2 separate regions of the Homo sapiens genome follow, and region 2 is linked to region 1. The links are contacts of gene promoters, found by promoter capture Hi-C in blood cells and fetal thymus (Javierre and others, 2016). All regions are on one chromosome and are shown on one strand. The core of a region is centred on a gene start or on the middle of the fragment in contact, and the rest is flanking DNA. Distances in the headings are between cores, read along the strand shown.

The links. Contacts are between HindIII fragments. The CHiCAGO score rates a contact against its expected background, and 5 or more counts as called.
Region 2: a contact is called between a fragment that was not itself captured here and the fragment with the promoter of MC1R in region 1, in 1 of 17 cell types (M0 macrophages). The highest score is 5.5, in M0 macrophages.

What each region holds. Positions count from the first base shown.
Region 1 is chr16:89,915,587-89,920,111 of GRCh38, forward strand. It overlaps MC1R (melanocortin 1 receptor), which reads left to right and starts at 3,276. Exons shown (of 1, transcript NM_002386.4): 1 at 3,276-4,525. The coding sequence starts at 3,673. It overlaps LOC124903759 (keratin-associated protein 5-1-like), which reads left to right. Exons shown (of 4, transcript XM_047435031.1): 3 at 2,290-2,461; 4 at 3,265-3,384. The coding sequence ends at 3,369. RefSeq lists enhancers at 2,045-2,930, 2,931-3,814, 3,167-3,216, 3,815-4,525 and a silencer at 3,716-3,997. The HindIII fragment of the contact is 10,478 bases long and covers 1-4,525 here.
Region 2 is chr16:89,705,849-89,710,450 of GRCh38, forward strand. It overlaps VPS9D1 (VPS9 domain containing 1), which reads right to left. Exons shown (of 15, transcript NM_004913.3): 11 at 3,929-4,058; 12 at 3,379-3,587; 13 at 3,009-3,108; 14 at 2,579-2,683; 15 at 1,286-2,106. The coding sequence ends at 2,013. Among named protein-coding and RNA genes, the nearest start is that of VPS9D1-AS1, 3.7 kb to the right of the region's middle. RefSeq lists enhancers at 382-561, 539-1,039. The HindIII fragment of the contact is 2,952 bases long and covers 1,717-4,602 here.

The DNA.
Region 1 (4,525 bases), core at 2,026-4,525:
GGCAGGGGCTGCTCACTGGTTCATGGCCAGAGGTGAGCGGGCTCTGGGTCTGGGTCTGTGAGGTGCTGTGGACGTCGGGGGTGCTCCTGGGGCAGGGACACAGCCACGGCCCTCACACCAGTGGAGCCGTCTTCCTTCCCGAGGCAGAGGCTTGGCCTTCTCACACCTTGGGACCCTTCTCTCCCCTGTGCTCATGCTGGAAGCACAGCGTGAGGGGGCAAAGGTCATGGGAGGCAAAAGGCTGGGCTGAGGCCGAGGCTCTGTGGCTGTGGCCGGATACCAGGTCCTGTGGTGGTGTGGGCAGGGCGCGCTCTCTCCTCTGAGCAGCCTGGGGCTGCGTGTGTGAACAGAAACAGGCCTGCCGATTTGAAGATGGTTTGACCAAGTCTCCCAAAGCTGAAGAGAGGTCCCTGCCCATGTCCCCCGGGTGGCAATCCACAGACGCACCTGTGTCCATCAGACGGTATCGTTGATAGGGAGTCTGAAGCCACCCAGACGTGGTCTGTTCACGCCGTGGACACCACGGTCTGAGGCAGACGGTTACAGCCACCGGCATAGGCGAATCTCAGCCAGAGAGAGTGAACTGGGACACCATTCACGTGATGGGCCAGATGGGCTGGCAGCGGCTCGCTGGAGCCGTCCGGGTGGGAACGCTGTGTCTGTTGGTCTGGTGCTGCTTATGTGGCTGGTTCAGGTCTGTCATCCGTCAACCTGCATATTTATCACTGGTGCATTTTCATGTATGTTGTACCTCAATTAAAACATTTTAGGGCCGGGCGCGGTGGCTCACGCCTGTAATCCCAGCACTGTGGGAGGCGGAGGCGGGAGGATCATGAGGTCAGGAGATCAAGACCGTCCTGGCCAACATGGTGAAACCCCATCTCTACTAAAAAAAATACAAAAATTTGCCGGGTGTGGCGGCACGCGCCTGTAGTTCCAGCTACTCAGGAGGCTGAGGTATGAGAATTACTTGAACCCAGTAGGCAGAGGCTACCGTGAGCCAAGATCATGCCACTGCACTCCAGCCTGGGTGACAGTGAGACTTCGTCTCAAAAAAAAAAAAAAAAAAATTAAAGCAGATGGGGTGTGGGGGCTCATCCCTGTAATCTCAGCATTTTGGGAGGCTGAGGCGGACCGATCACCTGAGGTCAGGAGTTCAAGACCAGCCTGGTCAACATGGTGAAACCTCATCTCTACAAAAAATACAAAAAATAGCCAGGTGTGGTAGTGGGTGCCGTAGTCCCAGCTAGTTGGGAGGCTGAGGCATAAGTATTGCTTGAATCCAGAAGGTGGAGGTTGCAGTGAGCCAAGAATGCACCACTACACTCCAGCCTGCGCGACAGAGTGAAACTGTCTCAAAATAAATAAATACATAAAAATTATATGTATATATATATATATATATATTTTTTTTTTTTTGAGACTGTATCTCTGTTTCCCAGGCTGGAGTGCAGTGGTGTGATCTCGGCTCACTGCAACCTCCGCCTCCTGGGTTCAAGCAATTCTGCCTCAGCCTCCCAAGTAGCTGGGATTATAGGCGTGCGCCACCACGCCTGGCTGATTTTTGTATTTTTAGTAGAGATGGAGTTTCACCATATTACCCAAGCTGGTCTTGAACTCCTGACCTCATGATCCGCCTGCCTCAGCCTCCCAAAGTGCTGAGATTATAGGGGTGAGCCACTGTGCCCGGCAATAATAATTTTTTTTTTTTTTGAGACAGAGTTTTGCTCTTGTTGCCCAGGCTGGAGTGCAATGGTGCAATCTCGGCTCACGGCAACCTCCGCCTCTCATGTTCAAGCTATTATCCTGACTCAGCTGGGATTACAGGCACCCACCACCACACCTGGCTGATTTTGGTATTTTTAGTAGAGACGGGGTTTCTCCATGTCGGCCAGGCTGGTCTCGAACTCCTGACCTCAGGTGATCCACCCGCCTTGGGCTCCCAAAGTGCTGGGATTACAGCCCTGAGCCACCATGGCTGACAATAATAAAAAATTTTAAAGCAAAACTAAAGATTTATAAATTGTAAAATGCGGTTGTAACAAGTATTTACTGTACCAGTAAATATGAAAAATATTAATGTCCTCACACACATGGAGGTGGCTTGTGAGTGGTGTGAGCATTTCATGGTCAGAGTTTGGCAGTTGGGCGAGAGACAGGATGGATTTTAACTCGAACATCGCAGACACAAAACTGAAAACCCTGATGCGGTGCCTGCACCGTTGCCTCCTTTCCTGCAGCTGTAAATGGGACGAGTAATTCCATCCCCCTCCCGCTTCCACCCTTCAGCACAGACGCAGTCTTCAGCAAGGAAGTGCTGGGAACGCCCTGGAGTGAACCCAGGAAGATGCCTGCAGTGGGTGCCAGGGCCCCTCTCCACCGTCCCTGCTGGGCTTCGGGGCCACGCCCGACTGCTGTGAACGGCCTGCGGAGCACCACGTGCGACGGCTGGAGGCGAGAGGTCTGCCTTTGATGTGGCTGTTGGTGCAGGGCCTGTGGTGCCTTCCGCAGCGGAAATGGCGCGCCGCCCGGGGAGGGCGGGAGCAGCGTCCCGGGTGCCCCTGTGAGGATGAGCGACGAGATGACTGGAGGGTCCCTGAAGACCTCACTAGGGTGCCCCCAGCCGGTCCGCTCCCAGGAAGCGACACCCCCACAGCCCCAGGGCTGCAGCTGAGGGGGTCGCCACTCTGGCTGGGCGAGGCTGGGCCCTTGGGGGCAGGCGCCAGAGTGGCCTCAGGCTCTACAAGATGCCTGAAAACACCAACCTCTCCAGGGCTCACTAGCATTGGACGCTTTCACGCTCTGCCCTGGCCGGAAGCCCCCTCACCCCGCGCGATGTGCAAACTCCTGCAGGGCTCACTCAGTTTCCAGAACTTTAATTATTGGAAAGTTCTCCCTGGTCCAGCCCCCAAATCTGCCGTGAACGTTGACAGCTGAGTTGCTGCTCCATGCGTGCTTTGGCTGAGAGCAGAGGGGACCCCTGTCCTCCCTGAGCTGCTGACGAGGGGAGGGGTGAAGGGTGGGGCCTCTGGAGAGGGCAGGTCCCGGGGAAGCTCCGGACTCCTAGAGGGGCGGCCAGGTGGGGGCCCTGGTGACCAGGACAGACTGTGGTGTTTTTTAACGTAAAGGAGATCCGCGGTGTGAGGGACCCCCTGGGTCCTGCACGCCGCCTGGTGGCAGGCCGGGCCATGGTGGGTGCTCACGCCCCCGGCATGTGGCCGCCCTCAGTGGGAGGGGCTCTGAGAACGACTTTTTAAAACGCAGAGAAAAGCTCCATTCTTCCCAGGACCTCAGCGCAGCCCTGGCCCAGGAAGGCAGGAGACAGAGGCCAGGACGGTCCAGAGGTGTCGAAATGTCCTGGGGACCTGAGCAGCAGCCACCAGGGAAGAGGCAGGGAGGGAGCTGAGGACCAGGCTTGGTTGTGAGAATCCCTGAGCCCAGGCGGTAGATGCCAGGAGGTGTCTGGACTGGCTGGGCCATGCCTGGGCTGACCTGTCCAGCCAGGGAGAGGGTGTGAGGGCAGATCTGGGGGTGCCCAGATGGAAGGAGGCAGGCATGGGGGACACCCAAGGCCCCCTGGCAGCACCATGAACTAAGCAGGACACCTGGAGGGGAAGAACTGTGGGGACCTGGAGGCCTCCAACGACTCCTTCCTGCTTCCTGGACAGGACTATGGCTGTGCAGGGATCCCAGAGAAGACTTCTGGGCTCCCTCAACTCCACCCCCACAGCCATCCCCCAGCTGGGGCTGGCTGCCAACCAGACAGGAGCCCGGTGCCTGGAGGTGTCCATCTCTGACGGGCTCTTCCTCAGCCTGGGGCTGGTGAGCTTGGTGGAGAACGCGCTGGTGGTGGCCACCATCGCCAAGAACCGGAACCTGCACTCACCCATGTACTGCTTCATCTGCTGCCTGGCCTTGTCGGACCTGCTGGTGAGCGGGAGCAACGTGCTGGAGACGGCCGTCATCCTCCTGCTGGAGGCCGGTGCACTGGTGGCCCGGGCTGCGGTGCTGCAGCAGCTGGACAATGTCATTGACGTGATCACCTGCAGCTCCATGCTGTCCAGCCTCTGCTTCCTGGGCGCCATCGCCGTGGACCGCTACATCTCCATCTTCTACGCACTGCGCTACCACAGCATCGTGACCCTGCCGCGGGCGCGGCGAGCCGTTGCGGCCATCTGGGTGGCCAGTGTCGTCTTCAGCACGCTCTTCATCGCCTACTACGACCACGTGGCCGTCCTGCTGTGCCTCGTGGTCTTCTTCCTGGCTATGCTGGTGCTCATGGCCGTGCTGTACGTCCACATGCTGGCCCGGGCCTGCCAGCACGCCCAGGGCATCGCCCGGCTCCACAAGAGGCAGCGCCCGGTCCACCAGGGCTTTGGCCTTAAAGGCGCTGTCACCCTCACCATCCTGCTGGGCATTTTCTTCCTCTGCTGGGGCCCCTTCTTCCTGCATCTCACACTCATCGTCCTCTGCCCCGAGCACCCCACGTGCGGCTGCATCTTCAAGAACTTCAACCTCTTTCTCG
Region 2 (4,602 bases), core at 1,943-4,442, 210 kb before region 1:
AGGTTCACGCCATTCTCCCGCCTCAGCCTCCCGAGTAGCTGGGACTACAGGTGCGGGCCACCACGCCCGGCTGATTTTTTGTATTTTTAGTAGAGACGGGGTTTCACCGTGTTAGCCAGGATGGTCTTGATCTCCTGACCTCGTGATCCGCCCACCTCGGCCTCCCAAAGTGCTGGGATTACAGGCGTGAGCCACCGCGCCCGGCCATTTGTAGGATTTCTAAAAGGAAGCTGCTATTATTCATTCCTGTCTTATGGGGGAGCTGCAGGCTCAGCGAGGGCAAAGCTGCACAGCAAACAGCAGCACTTGAACATGTCTGCCGGGTCTCAGCGCCAGGGATACAGCTGAGCCAGGACGTTCCCGGCCCCCACAGTGTGCAGGCTGCAGGTGTGGCCCCGATGCCAAGCCAGCAGGGGCTCCCACGCCAGGATTTGTTCAAGACACAGCTCATCTCCACCATTCTATGAAGCGGACTTTAAAATCCCATCTTCTAGACACCAACGCTGAGGCCGGAGCAGCCCAAGCTCCAAGGCACCGTGGCCAGCTGGGGTTCGTATCGAGGGCTGGGGCAGATGCTCCAGCTCTGCCCCACCCAGAGAGACACTTCTGTCTCCCTATGGGGTCCTTGGCGGGTAAACCAGCCCCTGCTCAGGGTGCAAGCACAGAGCATCCCACCGAGGTCCACAGCTACTGCTTTTAAGACTGTTTCCCTGAGAACAGCAACACTGCCCCCCAGCCAGCTCCTGGTAGCATCTAGGGTTGGGACCTCCCACCCCACCAGCCCTGCCACCTGCCTCCTCATGGCATCTCAAGGTGCCAGGGGTGCCTTTCTTGCAGAAGAGCCCTCCATCCTGATCTGCCCACACCGCCCTGGCAGATGCTGTCCACGCCCGGCAGCCTTCTGTGCACCTCAGAGCATGTGTGTGTCGCCATGCACAGAACGATGATTCCTGAGACCCTCGGGTGACTGCTCTGGGCTCAGGTCCCCAGTGATGACCTGGACCCCAGCCTCACCCCACCCTTCCCACCCACTGATGCCCTGCAGAGCTCTCCTGTCCAAGAGGGTGAAGCCCACACCTGCCTGGCCAGGCACAGCCCCAAGAGGACCCTGCTTCTATGCAGAGGGTCTCGGAGGCTGGCAGATGTTCAAGAGGTTGGGCCAGGCTTGGTTTGGGGCTGGGCTGTGGCTCGTCCCCCACATCCTCAGCGGCCTCTGCCATGGGCAGCAGGGGTGGTTGTGCTGCCTGGCCAGTGGGGTGGGGATTGAGGGAGCCACACGGCGAAGCACAGCAGTGAGCTCTTTATTTTAGGCTGGGTGGGGGCAGCATGTGACAGTCAAGAGGGCTGACCCTTGGGCTGCACGGACCTAGATAAGATGCCCAGGGTCCCGGAATGTTCACAGCCCACAGCCAAGGTGAGTAAGGGGCAGGGAATGTCCTGGGCTCAGAGCCCGAGACCCTGCAGGGGTGTCCCTGCCCATCAGCAAACAGCATACCCTGACACCAGCTGCACCCCAGGCCCCAGCCGGCCCTTGTTCCTGACCCAGACAAGAAACTAGTTCATGGGGCTACAACTCCCCTTCTAGGGGTCAGAGGGGAGAGAAACTGGACTGCCGTCTCCACTGCTGGCCGGCTCATGGCCCCCTCTTCCCTGATGCTCCCCAGGAGCTGCCCCAGCCAGATGTTCATCGCTGAGCCTGCACCCACCGAAGCCCAAAGCTTCCCTTCTTGGCCTCTCTGAGGCCTACACAGGAGAGCAGGGCCTGGTTCCTCCTGGAGCTGATTCAGCCCCATTCTGTCGGGGCAGAGGTGCCAACCCCAAGCTCCAGGGTCAGATGTGAGGTGAGGAAGGTGAAGAGCTGGAGAGCACACCACAGTGGACAAGCCCCCACCATGTGCAGAGCAGCGTGAGGCTCCAGGATGGTCCTCAGTAGATCCCATGGCTCCAGGTGTAGGAGAGACAGCCCTGGGAGGCGAGGCCAGGCCCTGCAGGGACCCTGGGCTCTAGCTGTACTACTTGGCCAGGCCTCCCCGGGGCAGCAGCTCCACGTAGCTCAGGGCACTCTGCAGTGATGTGAGGCAGTAGCCCTCCTCTCCGATCAGGTACCTGCATGGATGGCAGGGGCAGCCGGTGTCATCTGAACGAACAGAAGGATACCCCCGGCCCTCCAGAAGGTAGTGTCTGCCCTCCCAGTTCAGGACCTGGGTGCTGAGGGTGGGCAGGTGGGGCTGTCAGGGCGGCTGGGCTAGAGGAGGCCTTTCCCACCCACTATGTGCTCGTCCTTGGACGGTAGAGCCAGGGATGGCACTGGATCCTTATCCCCTCCCCAGGCAGATGCTGCTCAGGGGACAGCCCCCAGCTCCTGCTGTCTGGGAGAGGCTGAGCTAAGCGAAGGGCCACGGGACATGTGGCAGCAGGCACTCTGCACAGGTGGACCCACAGGGGCTGCCCGAAGGCATGGCTGTGACGGAGCCACACGCTACCCTCCCCAGCTGCTACTGACAACCACCGTTTAGGTTGAGGGATGAGGTCCCTGCTCTTCGCACAGAGACCCCCACCCTGACCCGCCAGGGTCTACCCCTCGTGGATGAACTCCTCCAGGGCCGCGCACTCCGACACCAGCTGAGGGAGGCCGCTCCTCAGCACCACGAAGGACAGGATGGGCAGCAGGTCATCGGCACCACTGTCGGGAGGGCATAGCGGCCTTGGGTTGGGGCCAGGAGCCTCTCACTCCGCAAACCCAGCAGCTGTGGAGCCATCCTGGCCGTGCTGGCCGCCATCTCTGTGCCCTTCTGCGCAGAGGCACCGGAAGGCAGCTGGGCATGGTGAGGCTGTCCCTAAAGGGAGCTCCCGTACTGCGGAGCCAGGGCTGGGCCCACACGGCCCTCCTGCTTCTACAGTGCAGCCAGCTGGCACAAGGCTAAGGGGCAGGAAGATAGTCCCTCCCGTGACCATTGCCTTTCTAGGGCCCTTCCTCCCTGGCCACACCTCGCCCTCCTGGGACTCACATGGCAGCTGCAGCGATGGGCGGGGGCCCGGCCTGGGGTGTGGCCTCTGGGGTGGGGCAGTAGTCTTCCGCACAGACACAGATGATCCGCAGGGTCCGCACTGCGCCCCAGACAGGGTTTCAGGGGCAGTTAACCCCGTCCAGCAGCCTGAGCCACCCCTTATACCCCGCCCACCCACCCACCTCCTGATGTGCACGGCTGGGAAGAGCCACGGTGACCCTGGCGATGTTGCTCAGACACCACTTTTGTTCTGGTCCCCCAACCTCCCCACCGGCACGTGACAAGAGAAGCTCAGTGGTGAAGACACAGGCTCCAGGTCACCTACTGGGATGGGAGCCTGTCCCTCCCCCTGACTCTCGAACCTGCTGACCTATGCACTCCAGCTTCTTCTGGGGGCAGCTCTCCAGGACCAGCAGTCCGAGCTCCTGGGCCGCCGCGCAGTAGGGGTAGCCAGTGGCCCCCTTGGCCTCAGGGTTCTGGGGGAGGAGCTTGGTGGGGATGCCAATGGCGGTGGGGGGTGCATTCCTGTAGAGCTCCATGCTCCTGCTCAGGGCAGCCTCCCGGGCTCGGTGCACGCTCCTGGGGCAGAGAGAGGCCAGGCTAAGCTGCCCCAGGGACCTTGCCCTGGGGACAGAAGCAGGGCTGTGGCTGGAGCTCAGTCCTGGAGAAAACTGGCTATGTATCTCAAGCAAAAAGCCCCAGCGTTGCCAAGACCCCAGGCACGGGAGAGTGGCAATAATCCTACCTGCAAACTGGAAGCCCCTGAGGATGGCCTCAGGGTAAAGCACAGGCTAGGGGGAGCAAACACGAGTCTTGGGGATGGAGGGGAGCAGACAGTGCCAGGGAGCAGGGCAGGCCTCCTGGGGGACTGGGCTGGAAGACACTAGGCCACGCAGGTGGTTGTACAGCTGGGTCCATACCTGTACAGGGCCAGCAGCAGAGGCCACAGCGGGGAGAAAAAGGGTTCCTCAATGCAGGCCAGGCAGCGGTCCTTGGAGGCAGCTGTGTTTAGGCCTTCGAAGGCCAGAAGGGTCAGCGAGAGCAGCCTGTCTGCTAGGAACAGAGCCGGGGACGTCCACAGAGGCTCCTCCCCTGCTGGGTCAAGTGGCTCTAAGCCACGGGGCCTTTCTCCGCCCAAGAAACCTCTTTCCACCGCCTTCAAGCCTCCTGCACCCACCCCTGACCCTCCTCGGCCCAGGGCAGGGAGTCCGGGACTGGAAACGGTCACCTACAGCTGCTGCCCTGTTGGGCCAGCAGCCTGAGAAGAAACCGGAGAATGATCCTTTTCTCAAAAGGGGCTTTACCCAAAACTGCAGGAACCAGGGAAGACTTTAGATCCAACCCCCTGTGGGTGGGGACCCTGACCAAGTTCCTTAGTGTGTGGGCAGCACAGTGAGAATGACGCCTGGACTGTTGGGCCTCCCTCAGTGGTTCTTAGAAAACTCTGGGCTGGGCGCGGTGGCTCATGCTTGTAATCCCAGCACTTTGGGAGGCCGGGGTGGGCAGATCAACTGAGGTCAGGAGTTTGAGAACAGCTTGACCAACATGGTGAAACTCCGTTTCTACCACACTGTTTCCAAAATGAGAAGGGCTG